Regions from separate parts of the Homo sapiens genome. Here regions 2, 3 and 4 are each linked to region 1. The links are contacts of gene promoters, found by promoter capture Hi-C in blood cells and fetal thymus (Javierre and others, 2016). All regions are on one chromosome and are shown on one strand. The core of a region is centred on a gene start or on the middle of the fragment in contact, and the rest is flanking DNA. Distances in the headings are between cores, read along the strand shown. Region 1 has its middle 2.3 kb from the start of KRABD3. Region 2 holds the start of ATG9B (autophagy related 9B). Region 3 holds the start of ABCF2 (ATP binding cassette subfamily F member 2). Region 4 holds the start of ASIC3 (acid sensing ion channel subunit 3).

Region 1 (3,047 bases), core at 211-2,710:
GAAATAAATTTTAAAAGTTCTGCTTCAGGAAGAACATTGAACCCAGAAGGAAGAAGAAAGAGGCAAGAAAAAAGAGTGAACAAAGATAGTGGTAAGCACATTGGTAAATCTAAACAGCATAGATTGTATAAAACAAAAACAATGACTTCAAATATCAGGAGAGAGTCTTAAAAACAAGATGTAACTAAAAAGAACAATAATTACACACAAGACAGAAGGGGAAGAGTGTGATTAAACTCATATTCAAAAAGCTTTCTATCATTTGCGAGAAGATCAGAAGTAGTAATATTAGATTCTATTAAACCAAATATGTGTGTAAAATTACAGAGTAACCCCCAAATGAATAAAAAAGGAAAGCATAACTTTCAAATCAGTAGATTCATGATTATGATAGAGATTGTCAGACTGGATTCAGCAGCAACAACAAAATCTAGCTACATGCTCTTATATGACACACATCTGAAACATAAATATACACAAAGTTTGAAAGTAAAAGGACAGGAAAAGATATATCAAAGAAATACTTGCCAAAATAAAGTTAGTGTAGCTGCAGCAATATCAAACAAAATGGATTATAGACAAAGACTATTATTAGGGATAGTGTTACTTTCTAATAATAGAATGAACAATTCTCCAGGAAAATACTACAATTCTAAATTTGTAAGCACACAGCCTCCAAACACATGAAGCGAAAATTCTCACAAATTCAGGGAGAAATTGACAAATGCACAAACTTGATATGAGATTTTAACACCTCTTTAGTAACTGATAGTTCCAAATGCAAAAAGATGATAAACTATAGAAGGCATAAACCACATGATTGATAAGCTTGATTTTACAGCTCTAACTAGATCCTACACCAATATTAGAATATATGTACTCTTTTAGGCAAACATGGAACATTTTCAAACATCTATTGCACACTTGGCCACAAAGCAGTCTCAGAAAATTCTAAAAAATCAACATCACTTACTACATTCTCTGACTATAAGGCAAAACTCAAAAACAAAATAACTCATAAAAAGATTCGTATTTGGAAATTAAAAAGTACTTTTAAATAATCTCATGGATGGAAAAAGAAATAATAATGAAAATCAGAAAATATTTTAAAGTTGCAGCCATTTTCACATGGAGGACTGGCCAGCACAATTTGCCTTTAGATTCATTTGGGAAAAGTGCCGACTAGTTCACCAAAAGTCAATTCACAGAATGACCAGATAGCCAAAAGCCAAATATGGTAAAAGCTAAACCACTGAATATCAACTTGCTAAACAACCAATCTGAATTATTGAAATTTTTTTTTTTTTTTTTTGAGACAGGGTCTTGCTCTGTCACCCAGGCTGGAGTGCTGTGGTGTGATCTTGGCTCACTGCAACCCCCCTCTGCCTCCTGGGCTCAAGAGATTCTCCCACCTCAGCCTTCCAAGCAGCTGGGACTACAGGGGTACACCACTGCACCTGGCTAATTTTTGCATTTTTTGTAGAGATGGGGTTTCATCATGTTGCCTAGGCTGGTTTGGAACTCCCAGGCCCAAGCAATTCACCAGCCTTGGCCTCCCAAAGTGCTGGGATTACAGGTGTGAGCCACCGTGCCTGGCCCCAGCCAAGGAATTTTTAAAGATGTGTTTCAGCTCCACTCCTGCCTTTGTCTGTGTCCAGAGCCATCCAATAAACCTGGTTCAGGACAGGTCTTCACAACTATTTTTTAACGCACACACACGGGCTGAGGTAAATACAGGTCTACAGGGTCAAAGGCGCAACTAAAATTTGGGGGATAGGGGTGCCAGGAAGTGTCTCCATAATTTAAATAATTGGCCATGCAGCAAATTTCATGTTGGTGAACTGCTTTTAGCGACTGATGGTCCACAAATGGGGCAGGAAGCCTAGCCAGGAAGTGGACGTTTGAGTCAAAGAGGTGCCAAGAATCTGCACAGCTTAAAACAAAGGTGCATCTTACTTGGATAGAGATTTCTTTCTACAGGTGTTTAAGTTTAAGGCAGGGGTCCCCAGTCCCTGGGCTATGGACCAGTACCAGTCCTGGCCTGTTAGGAGCTGGGCAGTGCAGCAGGAGGTGAGCTGCGGGCAAGCCAGGGAAAGCTTTATCTGTAGTTACAGCCACTCCCCCTTGCTCGCATTACCCCTGAGCTCTGCCTCCTGTCAGATCTGCAGGTGCTGGATTCTCATAGGAGCCAGAACCCTGTTGTGAATGCGGGATCCAGGTTGCGGGCTCCTTAGGAGAATCTAATGCCTGGTGATCTGAGTTGGAACAGTTTCATCCCAAAACAACCCCCCTCCCAGTCCATGCAAAAATTCCCTTCCACAAAACCGGGCTCTGGCCCAAAAGGTTGGGGACCCCTGATTTAGGGGGTTTTAACGTTTAGGGATCCCGGGCCGGAGGGTGGGCGGTGGAGAGGAGCTGGGAGCAGGAACACATTACTGTAAGGAGCCCGCCTCACCTCGGCACGGAGGTGGGACCCGGCCTAAAGCCCAGGAGGCGACTTACCCTGAGGGCTGTGGCCTGTAGGGCTCTTGAAAAGTTGGACTTTTAAGTTTTCCCTTTCCGCGAGGTGGGGCCTTGTGATATCTTCAAATCCTTGTTCAGCAGGCTGCGCACACGCCGGTCCTGTGTCTAAGGTGTCTCGGGTATGACCGAGGGGGCTTTGCCCGAGTGGGCGTGCGCCTTTCCTCGGAGGCCGGGACGAGGGGTTGTCGGCATCGTACCCGAGTCCGTGATCATGGCCGGCGCGGCTGCAAGGGCCAGCCCCGGGCGACTGGGCGAGGAATTCCCTTTCCTTCCCTCCGATATTGCCCAGGCAGAGCGCTGTCTGGGCCGCAAGGTCTGGACGGGGCTTCCAAACTCAGAGCAGAGTCTCCTCTGCGTGGGACCACAGCCTCCCCTTCCCCTCCAAGCTTCTGTCTGGCACAGCAGGCTTAGCCCCGCAGGCCCCCTTCCAGCAGCCTTCTATAAAAATGACGGGGTCCTTCTCCAGACAGGAAAACCAGGCTCGCTGCGCCTCGCCCGCACCCCCGGAGCGCTCTCGCAGCGCC
Region 2 (2,907 bases), core at 177-2,676, 1.3 Mb after region 1:
TAGGATGGCATCTGACAGGGTCACTTTGCTGTGGAACGGCCCAGGTCTGGTATGGTTACTTGGTTGGTTGGCAAAGAGAACATTGTAATCCACGCATCGAAGGAGGAAGGTTGTGAAGGTGACAATGAAAATAAATTGTCTGCCGGGAGGAAGGGGGGGTGCCGGGATGCTGCAGTGATCAGGGACAGCCAGGTGGGCTCCTGCCCCAGCCCCCAGAGCAGCCCATGGTTATCCTCCCTGACCCTGCCCCTGCTGAGCCCTTGGGCTGCTCGGGAAAGCATGGGATGGAAGCAGCTGGCACAATTAAGGAAGCAAAATGACAGAAGGAAGCCATGGGCCCAGGGGACCGAGTTCCGGGCCCGGGCTAAGCGTCTCACCCCAGCTGGAAGACATCCTCCAGCAAGATGCAGGCAAAGCCATTCCGCTGGTGGTAGCTGTAGATGTGGCTGCGTGTCAAGGAACAAGCCTGAGGCACGGGGGGCCTCTCCTGAGGACACCTCCCCTCAGCCCCAACAAGTCTCCCACCCATGACGCCCTCACGGAGTCTCCCTGCCAAGAACAGTGCCAGCTCCAAGAGGACCTTCCCATGCCACCTCTGCAGGCCTAGCGCAAAGGATATCTTGGTGAAGAAACTGTCCAGGTTCTGGATGTGATGCCAGGAGCCTGGGCACAGAGGGGAGAGTGTCAGCCCCTGGCATGTGATCAATTCTCCACGTTCTCAACCCGCTGCCAGAGGCCCAGCCTGGGATAAGTACTGGAGCTCCCAGGCACCACTAACCCTCTCCCACCCACACCCACACACATACCTCGGAGCCCTTCAGGGACATGAAGCAGGGGTTGCTGCTCCTCCCCGTGGATGGGTGAGTCTTGGGACCCCTCAGGGTCACAGTCCTCCAGCCGCTCATAATCCTGTTCAGGGATCAAAGGGCCTACCCGCAGCCCAGGAGAGTCCTGGGGGCACTGCTGTGAGGGAGTGGGGGTTGCCGGGGCCAGGGGTGGGGTGGAGTGGGATCCCCAGGAGGGAGATGCAGAGGCAGGTGTCATTGCAGGTTGAGCCTGTGTTGGGGGGGTGGCTGGGATAGGGAGAGCACTGTGGCAAGACTGAGAAGCCCCTGTCCCCTGTAGCACTGAGCAAGGGGGCCCTGCGGTGGGAGGGGAAAATGAGGAGGGGGAGCTTCTTGTATGAGGGGCAGGGGACAGAGAGAAGATGGAGATCCTCCCTCCCCCAGGTCCCCGGCATGAAGGAGGAGGAGGAGGTGGCAGTGGCATGGGGAGGAGGGGCACCGATCCGGGCCCCAGATCTCCCCACCGCCCCAGCCGCCTTCTTCTCCCCCCCCAGCCCATTCGGCTCACCATCAGGCCACGGCTTCTCCAGAAAGGTTGGAAGGATGGGAGCTGTTGTTGCTTCCACAAAGGTCTGTGACACTGAGCTGGGACTTCAACAGGAACAATGACAACAACATTACTAGGTGACTCAGCCTAGGCAGGCCTCAGGCGTCCCAGCTCTCAGTCACCTGTCTGATCACTCACACCCCTTCCAGGGCAACCTGAGGCCAAATCCCTCAGGGCCTGAGAGGGGCATCAGTTTAAGAGGAGGGGCCAAAGAGCACATTGAGATGAGAAGATTCCTATTATCTCCATCTTCAGACCTTGAATGAATGAAAGATAAAAAGAACAGCAGCCAAAATGACAAAAGCAAAAAGCAAAATCGTGTTAGAGCCAGGTGTGGTGATGTGTGCTTGTGTTCCTAGCTACTCAAGAGACTGAGGTGGGAGGATGGCTTGGTGCAGGTTACACTGGAACAGTATAGGTTACAGTGAGCTAGATCCTGCCCCCTGCCACCCCCCCCAAAAACATCCTATTAAAGGATTGTAGCAGGGCGCAGTACCTCACACTTGTAATCAATCTCAGCACTTTGGGAAGCCGAGGAAAGAGGATTGCTTGAGGCCAGGAGTTCAAGACCAGCCTGGGGAACAGAATGAGAAGACTCCATCTCTACAACAAATCTTAGGACCAAGATGTTAACTATTTCATTTCTTAAGAGTGTACCTCCCCCACTTCCCTCCACACACACACTACAGTGATCAACAGAGAAATGTTTTGTGACCAAAACAGAAAAGAAGAAGTAAAGGGGCCAGGCATGTTGGCTTACACCCGTAATCCCAGGACTTTGGGAGGCCCGGGCGAGAGGATCACTTGAGGCCAGGAGTTCGAGACCAGCCTGAGCAACTTAGGGAAACACCATCTCTACAAAATCTAAAAAACAAACAAAATAATTTTTTTTCTTTTTGAGGCAGTCTCACTCTGTCACCCAGACTGGAGTATAGTGGCACAATCTCGGCTCACTGCAACCTCCGCCTCCCAAGTTCAAGTGATTCTTCTGCTTCAGCCTCCTGAGTAGCTGAGACTACAGGTGTGTGCCACCACACCCAGCTAATTTTTTGTATTTTTAGTAGAGATGGGGTTTCACCATGTTGGCCAGGCTGGTCTTGAACTCCTGACCTCGTGATCCACCCGCCTTGGCCTCCCAAAGTGCTGGCATTACAGGCGTGAGCCACTGCGCCTGGTCAAAAATAAATTTTTTAAAAAGAATAAGAAAAGGTTGCATGTTTTATTGGTCTGAGGTGCTAAGGAAGAGAAGAGGGGAGGCTGACTTTGCAGCCAAGTTGGGGAAAACTAAGAAGAGGAGGTGAAGAAAGGAAAGGCAGCTATCTTGGATTTGAGAGTTGGTTTGGAGAACTTAGAGTAGAAAATTGGGGTTCTCTGAAAGTTCCATTCCGTTTGCATCCTTATCATTTTCAACTGTGACATTCTCTCAAGTCCGGATCCCACTTCTGGGACCCCCTGAAAAGCATCAGGGCTGAATCAGAAGGGAGGACAGCTGTGAGTCTGGGACTTGGAAGGATA
Region 3 (3,001 bases), core at 464-2,963, 1.5 Mb after region 1:
AATGGAAATACTGTGGTCAGGTTTGACTGAGAGACGCTTCATTATCTTGAGCTGGGCCTTGACAGAAATGTCAAATGTAGCTAGCAAAAACATGATGGTATTATAATTCAGTGTGTGAAAGGACAGAGATGTGGTGACTATCCAAGAGATAATAAATAGTCTGGATGGAGCAGAAGGCTGTTTAGGGAGTTTTCAGGGGGCAGGGAAGAGGGCTGGGATTGGACTGCCAAGGGCCTGGAATAGTCTTTACCGCATATGGCCATGTTTCCCAGTCTAGACGGTAAGTTTTTGGAGGGAAGACGGTAGTGCCTCAGTGTATAGCACCATGTCTAGCACTTGAGAAATAATAAATATTTCCCAAAATATAAATAACAGAAAGGGAGCTCTCTCCCAGGAAAAACCCCATAAATCAACTCATAAGTTACTCTCTTGTAGGTAGAGCCACTACACCAGTGAGAGGACAAGCTTATTGTATAATGTAGCAAAGAACCTGGCACATTGGTCACCATGCATAGAAATGGAAACTGAGAAAGGGGCAGGGAACTGATCCCCTCCTCACAATCTAATAGAGCAGCAAGGCAGCTCAGCAACTCTCACATCCGCTTGCCACTGAGTATGTGAGAACCTCGTCTTCGGCTTCCTTGCGCAATGACAGGGTGGCACGAATTCCAACTCTACTGATTTGATTCATCATGAAAAGTTGCATGACACCAGATACATTCTCCACTACCCCCAGCATCAAGATTCCAACTCTGGCTGGGGCATGCATTAAGTCTTAGCAACCATCCCCAACTCACCCCTCCCTCAATTCACCTGTGGTCTCTCTGCCATTGGCCTCATTCTTCTCTGCCACCTGTGGTTCTGTGACAACATCTCCATTTTCTTCATGTCCTTTTCTGGGCCGCTGTCGAGCTTTGGCAGCCTCCTTCTTTTTGGCTGCCTTCTTCTTGGCCAGGTCGGAGGGCATGATGATGACCCACAGGGGTAGGTTACTGTTGTTTCAGGGAGCCTGAAGGAAGGCAAACAGATACCCCCAAACCCTAAACTTACTAGTAAGAATGCCTGGGCCCTGCTCCATCCCTCTCAGGAATCTTCGTATCAACATCAAGCCTCTGATGCCCTGGCCTGCCCCCGCCTCGTCTGTTCCAACTTGGTCAGGGTATCCCAAACCAATGCCGATTCTCAGCGGCTCTTCTAATCTTAACATCTCTTCCCACAGGCACCAGTCCCCCACGGACTGCCTCACTTTGGAAACGCTCCTTCTTTCAGGGCCTCCGGCTGGGGACCAGGTTCTGCCCCTCAGCGGAGGTCTCCGTCTCCGGTTTCCCTACAACTTGGCGCTCCGCACTCAGCTAGCCGCCTCACTTTCCGGGCTTCCTCCTCCCGTCCGTCTCGGGCCTCTTCTCGATCGTCCCTCTCCACATCACCCGGCCGTCGAGCCCAGCCTCTTGCCGGGACGCACTCGTCCTCGCCCGCGTGAGTCCCCTCCGAGTCTCCACGCTCGTCACCCCCGGGTCCTCCCCCACCCCGCCCGTCAGCTTCTCTCCCTTAGCCCTATCTTCCCCCTCGCAGAGCCCTCCATCCAAACCCCGTCCCTGCTTCCTCTTCTAATTCTCTTTCCCCCTCACCGGCGGGGACCCTCTCCCTACAGCTCCCCTTCCCCTAACTCACTGGGCCTCGCTGCTCGGCCTATGTCGCAACAGAGCTGCTCCTTAGGATCCTCCGCGTGCGGCCGGCTCACCAGCCAATCACGGCCTCGGGTGGTTCTCGGCGCGCCGCGCTGCCTCCTTGGAAGTGTAGTCCTCAAGTTGCAGCGGCCAAGAGTGAGACCCGCCTTGAGGACTACTATGTATCCCACAGACCTCGCGGGGCCGCGTGACGCCATCAGGATGCGCGAGGCTCGGGGAGGGGGCGGGATTAGAGTCCAAGAGCTCTCTGCTAGCGGGCGCACTTCGGGCGCTGGAAACTGCAAATCCCAGATTGCTCGTTGGATAAACCGGCTGAGCCTTCAGGCTTTACCCCACCTCTCGAAAATCCATTGAGCTGTTGTGGAGTTACGAGTTTTTAGAGCTACCTAACCGACTCAGGCAGCAGGGCGTGCAACTACACTTCCCAGCTTGCCTCAGCGGGAGTAGATCGAAACAATGGGAGAGGAGAGGTGGGAGCGTGAGGGGAGGACTAAAATGAAGGGGGCGCTGGGCAGGGAGGGGTTCCAGAAAGCGGGGCATCGCTGCAAAGATGTTGCCAACGGAATTCCTTCACGAAAGAAAGCGCCTTGGTTTCATTAAACCTTAATTTTAGAGGCTGGTTCATTGTTAAACTTTTAGAAGGTGCCAGACGTTGTTTTGGAACCTCGGCCGCTTAGCCTCCCCGCTGCCGCATTGTTAGGTTTCCACTGAAGCCATGCAAGTTTGGTGGAAAGGGCCCCGAGATAAAAAGGCCCCTTGGCTGAGATTTGTTTTATTATTAGTTAGCCATGCTACCGGGCCCGTTACTTTCCCTTTGAGTCTCACTGTTTAAAATCTCTCACATGACATTTTGGGCTGGATGGTTTAAAAATAAATACAATCTCTCAAGGACTTCACATTACCTACATTGTAAACTCCAAATGTTTAGCCTCAAGTACAAGGCAGGCCCTTTGTGATCTTTGTTACTTCTCCAGGCTCCTGTGCAGCAGAAGCCTCACCATCAGTGACGTTTGGGGCAGCAAAGGAAGCTATTGCTCCCTTTGAGCATATTCTCCAAATGTGGCACCTTTTCGCCCACAGTCCGTGACTCAAACAATGAGAATTAGTTTTTCTTCTCAAACTCATACTTCAGTAGAACTTACCTACTTAAATAGTTCGGAGATTAAGCGTGCTATTTTACACCTGCATGCCTTTGAACATACATTTTCCTAGAATATCCTCCACCAACGAAGTGCCTACTATCTGTCAGGCTCAGATATATGTGCTGGAGTTGCAATGGTGCAAAGTCACTCCCTGACCTCAGGGAGCTCATA
Region 4 (3,062 bases), core at 308-2,807, 1.3 Mb after region 1:
AGAGCCTGGGGCTGGTTCACAGCTAAACCCCTCCTTAGGGCAGCCCAGAGTAGGGCCTCAGCTGGCAAGTCCACAAGCCCTGCTGGGGCCCTGCTTGTTGGCCTGACCCCTCCCTCACCAGGCAGCCAGCCAAGGTGGTTCCTGCTTCACCCACTCAGTCATCAGCCTCAGGCTGCCCAAAATGCCTCTGACACCAGATTTATATCTTCTGGGCGGCTTCTTTAAATCCAGCCCTTCACCCGCCCCCTAGAGAAGCAGTGAAACCCCTTGGCTAGTCCAGCTGGAAGAGCTAGACCGCAGGAGCCGCGCCGTCTTCCTAACCTCGCCTCGGCCTTCGCTCCACAGTGGAGAGTGGGAGCCTAGCTGTGCTTGATGCTGAATGCCTGTTTTGAGAGTGTGAGTGGGATCATCTACAGTAAATACTTGCAAAGCATGGCACTGTGGCTCTGGGGAGCTGGTACGCCTGTGCTGTAACCATGGTACTCAGTCCTTCCAAAGTGTTTATTAATCAAGCACCTGTCATGTGCCATTGAGCCCACGATGGGGAATGAGGACAGTCCCTGCCCCCATGAAGCTTGTGTCCTGTTGGGAGGACAGACAGGTGGCCCAGCAGTTGCAGCATGGTGTGTGCACACGTTTGGCTGGTGGAACCATGTTTCTACCACTCATGGTCAAAAAAAGCCCACCAAAGTCCTGGGAGTTCACATCTGTGTGATGATACGGCAACATTGTTTGTAATGGAAAGACTGGACACCCCCAGTGCCCATCAGTGGGGGAGTCATTAAATAAACTATGGTATGTGCACATAATGGGTGGTATGCAGCCCTTTGGAAAAATGTAGGTTTTCCAGGTCCTGGATATAGCAGCGTAAGATGGGAAATCACAGAATACCCATGTTGTGCCTGAGATGGCAGGTGGGGTACCCGTGGTACCCGGGAGGGTGGCAGGTGGGGCACCCATGTTCTACCTGGGGTGGCAGGTGAGCCCATAACCATTGTAGAGGCCAACATCCTCAGAGGCCTGAGTGTGGGGAGGTAGGCTTTGACTCCCTAGGGAGAGAGGGACACTTAGGAAACAGACGGGCCCTGGAAGTGGGACATGAAGAGTGCCCTGGCCATCCAGTGTAGGCTGAGATGCTAGGGGCACAGAAAGAAGAGATCTGCTGATGCCAGCCTTCCAACCATTTCCCAGCTTGGCCAAGAGCCAGCTCTGGTATTCGTGAAGGAACAGATCCTGGGTGAAGCTAGAGGGAAGGCCGCAGAGGCAAAAGGAGAGAGGAGCTAGGCCAGGGGTCAGCGACTGACCCTCGCGGCCAGTGTACAGGGGTTGCAACTGGGAGCCTAGGGGGCCCCAAGGCATCTCCAGGCCCAATCTACCTCTGGGCTTTTCTCAAGCTCTCCCTAGGATTACTGCGGTTTCCTCCTGGCGCCTCTCGTCTTGGACAGCCATGCCCCCCTCCATGCTGCACTAATGGCTCAGCCTGGGGCCCTAGGGACCTCTCCTACCCCCCAGACTGCTCTGTCGGCCCCCTTTCCCCCCTACTGCTGAAACCCAATCCTCTGCAGCAGCGCCGGCTCAGCACCGCCGGCTCAGCACCGCTCCGCAGCCCCTGCCTGCCACGGTCAGCTACGTCCCACCTGGTCTGCTGCGGAGTCCCCAGCCCAGTGCCTAGCCCAGTGGAGCCACCGCCTGTTCCTCGGGAAGGAACAGTGGGACCTGACCGGCCAGATCACCTCCTCCAATCCTGCCAGGCTAGTGCCTCCCTGCCTTCCAACCTTGGCTGTCTCCCACCCTCTCTTCTCCTCTCCTTGCCTGGCCTCCTGAATCCTATCTTAGCCTCCTTAGCCCCCTGACTGACTCTCTCTCGCTTCTTCCAAGCCTCTGTAGCTGGTTCCGCTCCTGGGTTCTGGCCATGAAGCCCACCTCAGGCCCAGAGGAGGCCCGGCGGCCAGCCTCGGACATCCGCGTGTTCGCCAGCAACTGCTCGATGCACGGGCTGGGCCACGTCTTCGGGCCAGGCAGCCTGAGCCTGCGCCGGGGGATGTGGGCAGCGGCCGTGGTCCTGTCAGTGGCCACCTTCCTCTACCAGGTGGCTGAGAGGGTGCGCTACTACAGGGAGTTCCACCACCAGACTGCCCTGGATGAGCGAGAAAGCCACCGGCTCATCTTCCCGGCTGTCACCCTGTGCAACATCAACCCACTGCGCCGCTCGCGCCTAACGCCCAACGACCTGCACTGGGCTGGGTCTGCGCTGCTGGGCCTGGATCCCGCAGAGCACGCCGCCTTCCTGCGCGCCCTGGGCCGGCCCCCTGCACCGCCCGGCTTCATGCCCAGTCCCACCTTTGACATGGCGCAACTCTATGCCCGTGCTGGGCACTCCCTGGATGACATGCTGCTGGACTGTCGCTTCCGTGGCCAACCTTGTGGGCCTGAGAACTTCACCACGGTGAGCTGACCTCCCTACCTATCCTGCCAGGGACCCAGAGAGCCGACCAGTCCCTGCCCAGCACCCACAATTCCCTAGCCAGCACAGGCTCCCCCAAAGCCAGGGGACCTCTTCCTTCCTACCAGCCATGGACTCCCCACCCCCCAGTGCCACTCCGTGCAGCCCAGGAAGCTGTCCTCCTTGGGGCTTTCTCTGTCTCCCAGCCCGAGGGGAGCATGTGAGGCCACACTGACCCCGGCTGGCCCTAGGCCTGAGGTCTGGCCCAGGGAGGCCCTGCTCCTGGGGCTGGGGGTCCTCCATGGTGGGACCATTCTGGGGCAGAAGACCCCTATCTCTGCCAGGAGGTGGGGGGGGCTTGCTTTCCCTCTGCCTTTTCAACATACTGCCAGCCCCGGAGGACAGCCACAGGGGCCCATTTCCTTTTCCTGCAGTTCCCAGAGAAACACAGAAAAACCTGTAGGCTGTGCCCTGGGCTTTGGTGGGGATTGGCGGGGTGGAGGAGCTGAGTTGATGGGCTCCCAAGAGCGTCCTGCAACATGTGCCCACTGGAGCGTGGGGCTGGGGGCATTGAGATGCGGGCTTCAGTATTCAAAGAAGAGACGCAAACATACCATGA

What was found. The method cuts DNA at HindIII sites, captures the fragments that hold promoters and counts their contacts. A CHiCAGO score of 5 or more calls a contact.
Region 2: a contact is called between the fragment with the promoter of ATG9B here and a fragment that was not itself captured in region 1, in 5 of 17 cell types (non-activated CD4 T cells, total B cells, total CD4 T cells and 2 more). The highest score is 10.1, in non-activated CD4 T cells.
Region 3: the fragment with the promoter of ABCF2 here is called in contact with a fragment that was not itself captured in region 1 in 1 of 17 cell types (non-activated CD4 T cells); the score reaches 6.6 in non-activated CD4 T cells.
Region 4: the fragment with the promoter of ASIC3 here is called in contact with a fragment that was not itself captured in region 1 in 2 of 17 cell types (non-activated CD4 T cells and naive CD4 T cells); the score reaches 9.3 in non-activated CD4 T cells.

What each region holds. Positions count from the first base shown.
Region 1 is chr7:149,711,160-149,714,206 of GRCh38, forward strand. No RefSeq gene overlaps it. Among named protein-coding and RNA genes, the nearest start is that of KRABD3, 2.3 kb to the right of the region's middle. RefSeq lists a silencer at 2,319-2,613 and an enhancer at 2,945-3,047. The HindIII fragment of the contact is 1,268 bases long and covers 827-2,094 here.
Region 2 is chr7:151,023,068-151,025,974 of GRCh38, forward strand. It overlaps ATG9B (autophagy related 9B), which reads right to left and starts at 1,427. Exons shown (of 14, transcript NM_001317056.2): 1 at 807-1,427; 2 at 620-663; 3 at 378-442; 4 at 1-139. The coding sequence starts at 1,356. It overlaps LOC124901777 (a long non-coding RNA gene), which reads right to left. Exons shown (of 3, transcript XR_007060593.1): 3 at 1,928-1,966. RefSeq lists an enhancer at 2,338-2,907. The HindIII fragment of the contact is 8,592 bases long and covers 1-2,907 here.
Region 3 is chr7:151,225,492-151,228,492 of GRCh38, forward strand. ABCF2 (ATP binding cassette subfamily F member 2) reads right to left here and starts at 1,714. Exons shown (of 15, transcript NM_007189.3): 1 at 1,672-1,714; 2 at 814-1,009. The coding sequence starts at 967. It overlaps ABCF2-H2BK1 (ABCF2-H2BK1 readthrough), which reads right to left and starts at 1,714. Exons shown (of 17, transcript NR_160983.1): 1 at 1,672-1,714; 2 at 814-1,009. RefSeq lists a silencer at 1,491-1,550 and enhancers at 1,651-1,700, 1,811-1,890. The HindIII fragment of the contact is 13,339 bases long and covers 464-3,001 here.
Region 4 is chr7:151,046,974-151,050,035 of GRCh38, forward strand. ASIC3 (acid sensing ion channel subunit 3) reads left to right here and starts at 1,558. Exons shown (of 11, transcript NM_004769.4): 1 at 1,558-2,446. The coding sequence starts at 1,913. It overlaps ABCB8 (ATP binding cassette subfamily B member 8), which reads left to right. Exons shown (of 16, transcript NM_007188.5): 16 at 1-809. The HindIII fragment of the contact is 11,911 bases long and covers 573-3,062 here.